2 separate regions of the Homo sapiens genome follow, and region 1 is linked to region 2. The links are contacts of gene promoters, found by promoter capture Hi-C in human tissues and cell types (Jung and others, 2019). All regions are on one chromosome and are shown on one strand. Each heading gives the region's core, a stretch centred on a gene start or on the middle of the fragment in contact. The rest is flanking DNA. Distances are from core to core; before and after follow the strand shown.

Evidence for each region. Contacts are between HindIII fragments. The study calls those that stand out against the background at their distance.
Region 1: a fragment that was not itself captured here is called in contact with the fragment with the promoter of NET1 in region 2 in 3 of the 25 tissues and cell types used here (adrenal gland, hippocampus and thymus).

The regions. Positions count from the first base shown.
Region 1 is chr10:5,631,619-5,636,773 of GRCh38, forward strand. It overlaps LOC107984199 (a long non-coding RNA gene), which reads right to left and starts at 1,407. Exons shown (of 2, transcript XR_001747344.2): 1 at 609-1,407. It also overlaps the pseudogene RN7SL445P. The HindIII fragment of the contact is 4,294 bases long and covers 288-4,581 here.
Region 2 is chr10:5,410,755-5,416,479 of GRCh38, forward strand. NET1 (neuroepithelial cell transforming 1) reads left to right here and starts at 1,803. Exons shown (of 12, transcript NM_001047160.3): 1 at 1,803-2,066. The coding sequence starts at 1,939. RefSeq lists a silencer at 1,715-2,144. The HindIII fragment of the contact is 9,279 bases long and covers 1-5,725 here.

The DNA of each region.
Region 1 (5,155 bases), core at 1,185-3,684, 220 kb after region 2:
AGGTTGCCTAGGGAGGGGTGAACCAGCCCAGATTGGAAATGGAGCAAGTCTAAACACCCATAATGATCAGTAGCGGGATCACTCCCGTGAATAGCCACTGCACTCCAGCCTGGGCAAGATAGTGAGGCCCTGTCTCTAAAAAAAAATTGAAAGATGATAGATAATAGATAATCAATGGATGGATAGATAAATGAATAGATAGATGACTGATGGATGGATAGGTAGATAGAGGGATAATAGATGATAGAGAGAAGGAATAGATGATGATAGATGAGAGAGAAAGAGAGGTAATATTAAAGCCATCATTTCTGGCCTTGCAGGGAACACTCTCTCAGCCGTGTTTCCTGACTGCACTGGGGAGGATTTGGGTCCAAGCTCCTCCTGTAATTTCCTGAGGTCCTGTGAAATGATCCTGCCCTAGGCAGCTGCGTTCCCAGAGGAGTGTCCACCTGGGAGCACGCCACAAGCCCAGAGGAACATTCTGATTTCCTAATGGAACCAGATGTCCCAGTTTGGGCAAAAGGGCCTCCCGGGAAAACAGAGTACTGCCAAGGACTCAGTCTGGCATGTCCCCAGAGGGAGAGAAACTGTCCCCACCCACCACTTACTTGGATGGAATTGCTCCCCGGCATGCAGAGGTATCACTGTGTGAGGTCAGCAACGATGCGTGGAGGCCTGTCTCGAGGCGACCTTCTGGTGGGGAGGACATTCTCTCCGGTTGTATTTTCATTCCACTCAGTGTTTCCGTGCAGAGTGGAGTGAGCGCCCCTCCTTGACCTCATGAAGCTGCTCAAGGGCAAAACTCTACCTGGGACTCGATTTGCTTAGAAACAAAATACGCAAAGGAAACACCAATTCAAGGTAGCCTGTTATTCACGGCCAAGAGAGAGACTTCTCTGACACTTTGGATCTTTCCCTCCATCAATCATTTACTTCAGTGCTTGGAATGTCAGGAGGAAAATAATGAGTCACACCTGGTCTGAGGCAACCAAGTCACTTGTCAGCACAGAGTGCCTGCAATCACAGCACTCGGTGACCAAGGCCCAGATGCTTGGCTGCAGCTGGAGGCATAACAAGAGGTGCCAGAGAGAAAGACCAGTGAGATACTTTACAGCCAAGATCTGCAAAGCACACATCCAGGGACTCCAGCTTAGGAAGCCTGGCTGTGAATGTTTGTTGAATGCAAAGGAACACATCGTTGTAGGCTGGCCTGGGAGCCCAACACAAAATAAGAATCAGTGCCCAGCTGGGCTTTCAGTTTACTTGTTATTAGAAATATTATTGGGCTTTATCAAGTCTTGACAACTCTATTGCCCTGTTTGAAAGTGACACAGAATTAATCCATGGGCTGTCAGATCATCTGAGGAACGGCCTTATAGACCAGGCCAGTTTTAGATTCAGCCTGCTGGATGTGGGAGCCACATGTGGTGGGACAAGCACAGGTTGGGGGCTGGATGTGGGAACTCAGTAGCACCCAGCCTCTTGAGTAATACTGCTCTCATCAATGCTGTATTTAACCAAAACTGCACCTAAATCGTATCTTACCTATATTTCTTGAATACAAGTTTATACTCCATGCTATTTTAGAAGCAGCAAGGGACCCCTCTGACACCAAAGAAGAAGGAAAAAAATCTAACAATTAGACTCTTTGAAGTCAGCTTGTGATGGATTTTTTTTCCTATGGCTCAGTCAAGTTTTATAAATGACCTATTTCTGTTCTGCCGCCCACAGATTCCTAGAGGCTCGTAGGCAAAATCCCACGCTCTCCGGATGGCCAAATCTTGCCTTTTATGATCAAAGTCTCTCCCAGGTCTTTGAAAATCATAAGCATAAGAAGGATTACAGTAAGCCCTGTTATACATGTAAAATTCCATGGAATTAAGTCTCACTCTCTTCTTCGTGCCTGGTAGAAAAAGTATGAAGGAAAAGAAAAGTCACTTCAACAAATCTTCTGTTTCTTCATCCTCATCCCAGAAGAGTGCTGCCATTAATCAAAGTCGTTATAAAGCTTTGTAAACCACAGAGCACCATGGGAATCAAAATGAAGTTGTTCTTTATGCTATGTAATTGACTTTATTAATCCAAGACTTTAGAAGGTCAGCAGTCATCCCTCTTCTGTCTTCTCCAGTGTCCTTGGCAGAGTTAAGAGTCAAGTTTGCTCATGCCTTGTCCTGGTCTGCTGAGGCTGCTAAAACAAATTCTATATGGCTGGGCACAGTGGCTCATGCCTGTAATCTCAACACTTCAGGAGGCTGAGGAGGGAGGAATCCTTGAGCCTAAGACCAGCCTGGGCAACATAATGAGAACTTGTCTCTACAAAAGTTAAAAAATTAGACAGATGTGGTGGCACACGTCTGTAGCCTCAGCTACTCAGGAGGCTGACGTGGGAGGATCACTTCAGCCTAGGAGATTGAGATCATGCCACTGCACTCCAGCCTGCGCAACAGAGCAAGACCCCGGCTCAAATAAAAGCAAACAAAACCTAAACACTGGTGGTTTTTAAACAACAGAAATCTATTTCTCAAAGTTCTAGAGGCTGAGAAGTCCAGGATCCCTGCCTGGTGATGACTGCTCTCTTCTCCATAGACAGCGACTTCTTTCTGTGTCCTCATCTGCCTGAAGGGGCAAGGCAGCTCTCTGGCACCTATTTTTATTTTTGACACAGAGTTTCACTCTTATTGTGCAGGCTGGAGTGCAGTGGCACGATCTCGGCTTACTACAACCTCTGCCTCCCAGCTTCAAGCGATTTTCCTGCCTCAGTCTCCCAAGTAGCTGGGATTACAGGCGCCCGCCACCATGCTTGGCTAATTGTGTATTTTTACTACAGACGGAGTCTCACCATATTGGTCAGGCTGGTCTCAAACTCCTGACATCAAGTGATCAGCCCACCCTGGCCTCCCAAAGTGCTGGGATTACAGGTGTGAGCCAGTGCACCAGGCCTGGCACCTCTTTTCTAAGGGCACTGGTCCCTTTCAAGAGAGCTCTGCCCTCATAGCTAATCAGCACCCAGAGGCTCCACATCCTAATACCATCACTGTGGGGGTGGGGATTTGAACACAGGAATCTGGGGAGAGACAGACATTCAGACCACAGCATCCCCCAGCTCACCACATGATGAGGTGCAACATCTGTTCCTATACCTGCTCCCTGAAAAACAGACTCTGAGATGCTCGGGGCCAAGATTTGCTTTTATGTGTTCTCATATCATTAGTGCCCAGCAGAGAACTTAAAATAGAACAACTGGTAAAAAAAGGAAAGAAGAAGATGGGTGGGCTTGGATGGGGAAGATGGGGAAGAGGACCAAGGAGCAAGAGGATGTCCCTGCTTCTCCTCTGGTCTTACCCTCTGTCCCCAGCACAGTGGAACAAGCTTCGGGATTTGGATTCACACCAAGAACGGAGGGACTTTTCTTTGTTGATCACTCAGAGTGCAGATGGTGAAGCTAAGTGCACATCCTGGCTCAGCGTCCAGTGGCAGATTCTCCCCAGCCATGAAGTCCGTGTGCACAACAACCGCACACCTGGAGGCCAGATGCTAGAGTGAAATTGTATTTGAACGAATAAATGTGTACACAGGTGCGTGAGAGAGAGAGAGACAGAGACAGGCAGAGAGGCCTATCATCCATCTTTTCTGCCTTTTTTCATGGTTTGGAGAAAAAGGAGGCACTCTTTAGATTGGACCAATTTAAGACATCTTTTCATTCAACTTGTCGGAGATCACAAGACCTTCAAGCCAAAATCACTGAGGCCTCGCTGTCACTGTCATGTGGTGCTAATGTGGAGAAAAGAGAAAAGGCAAAGACTCCAGGGTCTGGAAATATTTTCTCAGCCATTACAGGGGGCACAGCCCCTGCCAGGGCCCTGTGCGCCCCACCTTCATCTCTCCACGGCACAGCTGCTCGAAAGATGAGCAAGCTGTCCAGCTTTGTTCTCAGAGCCAGTCTTACGCTCGTTTTTCCGAATAAAGGAACTCAACTGCCTAGAAGAAACAGGTGTTGCCCACTGGAGAGAAAGCACAAGCAGTTTAACAAAGTGGCCCAGGGCATGAAATGGACAGGGAAAGGCATTCTTTTCATCCCAAATGACTTCAGAGCTCTCTGCAGACTCACCTGGTAGCACAGATGGGATACCACAGGGAGCATTGCTATGGTCCAGGAGTAGACGAGATTCCACTCCCTCCCTGGAAGACCACGGGGAGCCCAGAGCTGAGCAAGAGATCCCACTGGGGATCCCACTGGGGTCTCTTGCTGTCTCCCTCACGACGCCTCCCACCTGCAGAAGGTGGGCAGCACCCCGCCTCCACGGGCTGGGGACAGAGGGTGCAGCTGCATTTTCTTACTGTGAAATGGCCCCTCAATTATGACCTCTCCAAAGGGGAGGGTTTGATACCAGGGACTTTGCCCAGAGCCAGACCTAGAAGACGCACCATTGTCCAGGGAGGGAGCCATACCAGCGCAGCGAGGCCAATCAGTGAGAGGCATTTTACCCAGCACTTTCCTACAGAGGAGATGAGGGTCGGCTCTGTGAGACAAACCTCAGGACACAGGGCTTTGCATACCTAGTTTGTCTGAGAGTAGTTCCAAAAAAAGTGTCAACACCCACTGTGGAATACAAGCTCCTATAACCAAAACCATGCCGTTGTGGCCAACAGGAATCTGAAAGGTGTTTGTAAGCACAACCGAGTTTCTAATTTTTTGGTTTTTTTGCCCTTCGTTGTTCCTCTATGCATTCAATTTTTATTATGAAAAAATCAAACATCAAAACACATGGAGAGTAACCCCATGTTTCTATTTGCCCCCCAACATGAGCAAATAGTAGCATTCTATCATGTGCTTCGTATCTTTTTTTTTTTTTTTTTTTTTTTAGAGATAGGGTCTCACTATGTTGCCGAGGCTGGTCTCGAACTTCTGAGCTCAAGCAATCCTCCCGCCTCAGCCTCCCAAAGTGCTGGGATTACAGGCGTGAGCCACTCTTCCTGGCCAACATCACTTTTTAAGAAATGCAATACAACAGAGGTGAAGTTCCCTGCGTTCCTATCCCCAAGCCACTGGTATCCCCATGATGCCAGTGTGTGGTTTCCATGATTTTATGTATTTACTGCATACGTATGAATTATTAGATGGGCTTTTTAAAAAAATTATACAAATTGACTCATA
Region 2 (5,725 bases), core at 553-3,052:
GTGGCACAGACCTAAAGAGTGAGCAGCAGCAAGATTTATTGTAAAGAGTGAAAGAACTAAAGCTTCCACAGTGTGGAAGGGGACCCCAGTGGGTTGCCCTGCTGGCTGGGGTGGCCAGGTTTTATTCCCTTATATGTGCCCTCCCATGTTCCATTTTTGTCCTATCAGAGTGCCCTTTTTTCAATCCTCCCTGTGATTGGCTACTTTTAGGGTCCTGCTGATTGGTGCTTTTTACAGAGCACTGATTGGTGCATTTTACAATCCTCTTGCTAGCTACAGAGCACTGATTGGTGTGTTTTACAATCCTCTTGCCAGACAGAAAAGTTCTCCAAGTCCCCACTCTACCCAGGAAGTCTAGCTGGCTTCACATCTCAATGTTACTCCCTAATTTCTTACTCTTTTTAAAACAAAAACATTTTTCCCTCATGTTATAAAGGTACTGCAAATTCAATATGTCCTTATTTTTAAAAAAATTAAATGCAAAAAATAAAAATAAAAATTTTGAATACCTAAAGTCTACCTAGAGACATTTTAATACATTGACTTTTTAATACATTTAATACATTTTAATACATTATCTTTTTTCTTTGTATAATCTCTTGTAATTCATAACTTTGAATATACTGAATATACCTCTATACTTCATGTTTTTATTTCAAATTACCAGTATACTATTACATACTTCACACTTCATTTTTGTTGGCTGAAAATATTCTTCTCAGTGGATGAGCTATAAATCATTGTTTATTTAGGTTGTTTTAAATGTTTCTATTATAAACAATGTCATTAATAGCTTCATGTTTATATAATTTTATTTTTTAGGATAAATTTCCATAAGTGGAAATATACTGGCAAAAGAGAAGTGTTTTTTTGTTTTTTTTTTTTTGGAGACGGAGTCTCGCTCTGTCACTGGGCTGGAGTGCAGTGGCACGGTCTTGGCTCAATTCAAGCTCCGACTCTCTGGTTCAACTAATTCTCCTGCCTCAGCCTCCTGAGTAGCTGGGATTACAGGCATGCGCCACTCTGCCCAGCTAAGTTTTGTATTTTAGTAGCGACAGGGTTTCACCATGTTGGCCAGGATGGTCTTGATCTCCTGATCTCGTGATCCGCCTGCCTCAGCCTCCCAAAGTGCTGGGATTACAGGCGTGAGCCACAGCGCCCGGTCAGGAGAAGCTATTTTTAAAGACTTTGACACATATAAAGCAATATTTAAAATCAAAGAAAGTGTAATTTGTTTAACAATTTTTTTTTTACTTGAAGCGGTCTTTTATTTTATATTATGTCTTTTGCTGACTTTTACAAGCAAAGGATGAAGTCACTTCATTCTGTTTTGCTAGGGAGAGACTGTGTCATGCTTATTGGAAGACATAAGGGCTCATAATTAGATTTTGCTGGTTCCCTAGAGACAGTCCCGGGAACACACTTGCATAACCTTTGGTAATTGGAAATATATCTCATATTGGCCACGTGCACAATAATTCAGTGTGAATATGGCCAATAAACATGCCTTGTTTACAGGTCATTAGTTTGGACCTCTCTTCTCCTCAAATGCTAAGAAAGATCTGGTGAATTAAAATGCTTCCAGTCCATTTGCCTTGGCCTGTAGTGAAAGTCCTAATGAACAATGAAGGAGGTACCGGGCCTTAGGGACTCAGGGATGCGCTCAGGAGTTAAGGGCAAATTTTCCTAGGTTCTTTCCTAGGCAAGTAGATCCCGGGAGCGGTGGAGGGGCGGGACTCCACGTCTCCTAGGAACCGCTGCGCGCTCACTGATTGGCTGATCGCTGCTCAGCCGCCATTTTCAAATCCCCGGATGACGGCGGTGGCGGCTGCAGTCCGCTGACAGGCGCTTTCTGCCTGGCAGAGGCTGGCGGGCATCGTGCCCGTCCCTGCCGGTCTCCCGGGCACCCGGCCACCGCCCCACCCCCTCCTCCGTGCCATGGAGCCCGAGCTGGCGGCTCAGAAGCAGCCTCGACCGCGGAGGCGAAGCCGCCGGGCCTCTGGGCTCAGCACGGAGGGAGCGACGGGGCCTTCGGCCGACACCTCCGGGTCGGAGCTGGACGGGAGGTGAGTGTGGGGGAGGGGAGGGCCGAACGGGAGGTGAGTGTAGGGGAGCGGAGGGCCGAACGGGAGGTGAGTGTTGGAGAGGCAAGGGCCGGGGGGAGGGGAGGGCTGGCCGGGAGTTGGATGTGGGGGGCGGCGAGTGGGGGTGTTGGTGAGGGCCAGGGGGAGGCGAGGGCCGCTGGGAGGTGAGTGGGGGGTGGGGGAGGTGACCGCGGGGTTGGGGGGGGGGACGGGGGCCGCTGGAAGTGAGGGTGGCACAGGCTGGAGTGACAGTGTGCCTGGCCTTGGACCGAGGTCGGTCCTGAGACCCCAAACTGCGATTTTCCCTGCCTGTGGCAAAGGGGCGGGTTTATTGAGTCTCCTCGCCTCCTGACTGTTTCTCAGGGGAGACTTAGGAAAAACCACAATGGTTTTGTTCTGCACACCCAACTGGCTGTAGGCTGGCGTTCCCAAATGCCTTTGCTCAGACCGAAACTGTCATGGTGAGCACCACGAGAATGGGCTTCCATGTCCTGAGAAAGAAAAGACTAAGGGATAAGTTGACTTCGGGATATGTTATGAGATGCCTATTAGAGAGTTCATCACAACCATTTTCGTGTTTTTTCTTTTTACTTTTTGTGGAAGTATACATTGAAATGAGAGTGTATGACTCGTGTTTGGCTCAGTGAAATTTCACAAAGCGAAGCTCAGGGGATAGCTAGTGAATTAGGAGGAAGGGAACCAAGTGAGAACAGTATCCAGGAGGCCAAATGAAGAAAGAATTTCAAGAAGAGGACGTGGCGAGCTATGTCAGATGTTATTGATAGGTCAAATAAAATGAGGATTAAGTAAAATAAGATGAGGATTAAGCTAGATGAGGAATGAAAATTAAATTTGGTAATGAGAAGAGAGTATTGATCTTAGATGGTTTCCAAGAATGGTTACAATATCGAACTTAGAGTGTTTTGCAACAGGTTGAGAAGAGAATGTGCGATTTGTTCAGAAAATAATGTGAGTGCCAACACTAGGAATATGGAAATGGAAAAATACTCTTGTTACTATTTAAGATTTATAATCTAGTGGGGAAGAAAGATAAGTAGGTTAATAATTATTATAATATGTGATAAAAGTTATTATAGTGATATACACAGAATGCCGTAGATTAAAAGGAACACTTAATCCTGACTGGAGAGAATAGGAAATGATTTCCTATTGTAATCCCTGAGTCTTTAAGGACCAGTTTAGAGAGCAGATGTAAATGGATGATTTCAGGCAGAGAAGCATGTAGAAAGGCCCTGAAGCAAATGAGTCTGATGAGTTCTGGGTATATATTCTATTTTATTACTATATTAACAGTGATATTTGTATAGAGGAGAGGAAACCAATATGGGGAGAAGGAGGAGGTAGTCATGAGAGATGATGCTAAAGAGGTAAGCGCCACATCATGAAGAGACCTTGTATGCCTTGACAGAGTTTGGGTTTTATCTTCATGGTAATGGGGAAATACTGAAAGACTTTAAATGAGCCAATGGCATGACATATTTGCATTTTAAAAGATCAGTTTGCCTTCCATGAGAAAAATAAGCAACATTTTGGAGTCATCTCACTCTTCATATTTTATGAAAACTATTCCCCAAAAATGTGCACATATACATAAACATTTCAGGAGATTTGTGGACCCAGCTGTGTATACCAAATTAAAATTTCCAAGTTTAGCTGATGGATTGGTAGGAAATCAGTCTGCAGTAGTCTAAATGAAAAAATGATTGTTCGAATCTGATAGCTGGCAATGGGATTGGTGAAGAGAAGTTTCACTGCAACAGGAAGACAAGAAAGAATAGAGAGAAATAACACAATTTTGTGGGATAGACTCTTAAGAAAGAATAAATTCCCTTGATGTGCTGTGCTGAGTTAACAAATAGAGGGAGAGGTTGAACAGACAGTAGAGGAGAAAAATGGTTGAACAAGGATCCAAGAAGGCAGAAAAGGACAGAATCCAAATTCAAGGTAGAGGATTTAGCCTAACAAGAAGCTATGGATGATATATAGTTTTGAAGAATGGGGTGTGTTGTGAGCAGGAATTTGAGGACTTTCCCACCAGGCCTCTATTTTTTGTGTGAGGTAGGAAATGATACATTGTGAGAAAAGCGTAGTAACACAGGCAGCATGAGGAGAGTGAGACACAGTTAGAAGAACCATGGAGAGAAAATGGAGAATTAAATAACATATTCCTTTTCCAGAAAAGATGTAAGATCATCTACAAGAATACGTAAAATATTACAAGATAGTATTAATTGTGAGGCAAGAAGCAACTAAGCACTGTATCAGATTCAGAAATCATAAGGAAAAAGATTTGTGTGTATGATTATGTGACTATTGAAAAACGTTCTGCAGGCAAAACTCAGTATAAACTAATTTGAAAGACAAATACGTACAGTACAATTTACCCACTTAAATTGTACTACTTAGAACATTTTCATCACCTCAAAAAGAGCATTTGTACCCTTTAGCTATTGTTCCTCTCCTACCCCTTCTGCCCTAAAACCTAATCTGTCGGTCTGTAGGAATTTCTCTGTTCTGGACATTGCATATGAATGGATTTATGTAATGTGTGTGGCCATTTTTGGTGGGCCATCCTTTGCTCTTTTTTTTTTTTCTTTTGAGACGGAGTCTCAGTCTGTCACCGGGGCTGGAGTACAGTGGCATGATCTCGGCTCACTGCAACCTCCGCCTCCCGGGTTCAAGTGATTCTCCTGCCTCAGCCTACCAAGTAGCTGGAACTACAGGCATGTGTCACCACGTGTGGCTAATTTTTTGTATTTTTAGTAAAGACAGGGTTTCACCATGTTGGCTAGGCTGGTCTTGAACTCCTGACCTTGTGATTTGCCTGCCTCGGCCTCCCAAAGTGCTGGGATTACAGGCGTGAGCCACCGCACCTGGCCCTGTTCATTTTTAAATTTCTTTTTTATTGAGTTGTTAAGAGTTCTTTATTCTGGATACAAGTCCCTTATCAGATAGATTATTTGCAAATATTTTCTCTTATTCTGTGGTTTGTCTTTTCACTTTCATGATGTGCTTCGAAGCACAAAAATGTTTTAGTTTGTAGTCCTACTTGTCTATTTTTGCTTTTGTTGCCTGTGTTTTGGTGTCACATCCAAGAAATCACTGCTAAATCCATTGTTATGAATCCTTTCCCCAGTGCTTTCTTCTGAGAATTTTATCATTTTAGCTTTTATATTTGGGTCTTTAATCCATTTTGAGTTAGTTTTTGTATATAATGTGAGATGACGGTCCAACTTAATTCTTTTTCATGTGTCTATCCAGGTACCCCAGCACCATTTTTTGAAGACTGTTCTTTCTCCCACTGAGTAGTCTTAGCACCCTTGTCAAAAATCAGTTGACCTTAAGCATGAGAGTTTATTTTTAGACTTTGACTTTTATTCTCTTGATCTATATGTAATAGCCCTATGCCATTACCATGGTGTTTTGATTACCGTTGCTTTGTATAGTAAGTTTTGAAATTGGGATATGTGAGTCCTCCTACTTTGTTCTTTTTTTCCCAAGATTGTTGTGGCTATCCTGGGTCTCCTGCAATTCTATGTGAATTTTAGAATCAGCTTAATCGATTTTTACAAAGGAGTCCACAGGGATTCTGATAGAGATTGCATTAAATCTTGTAGATC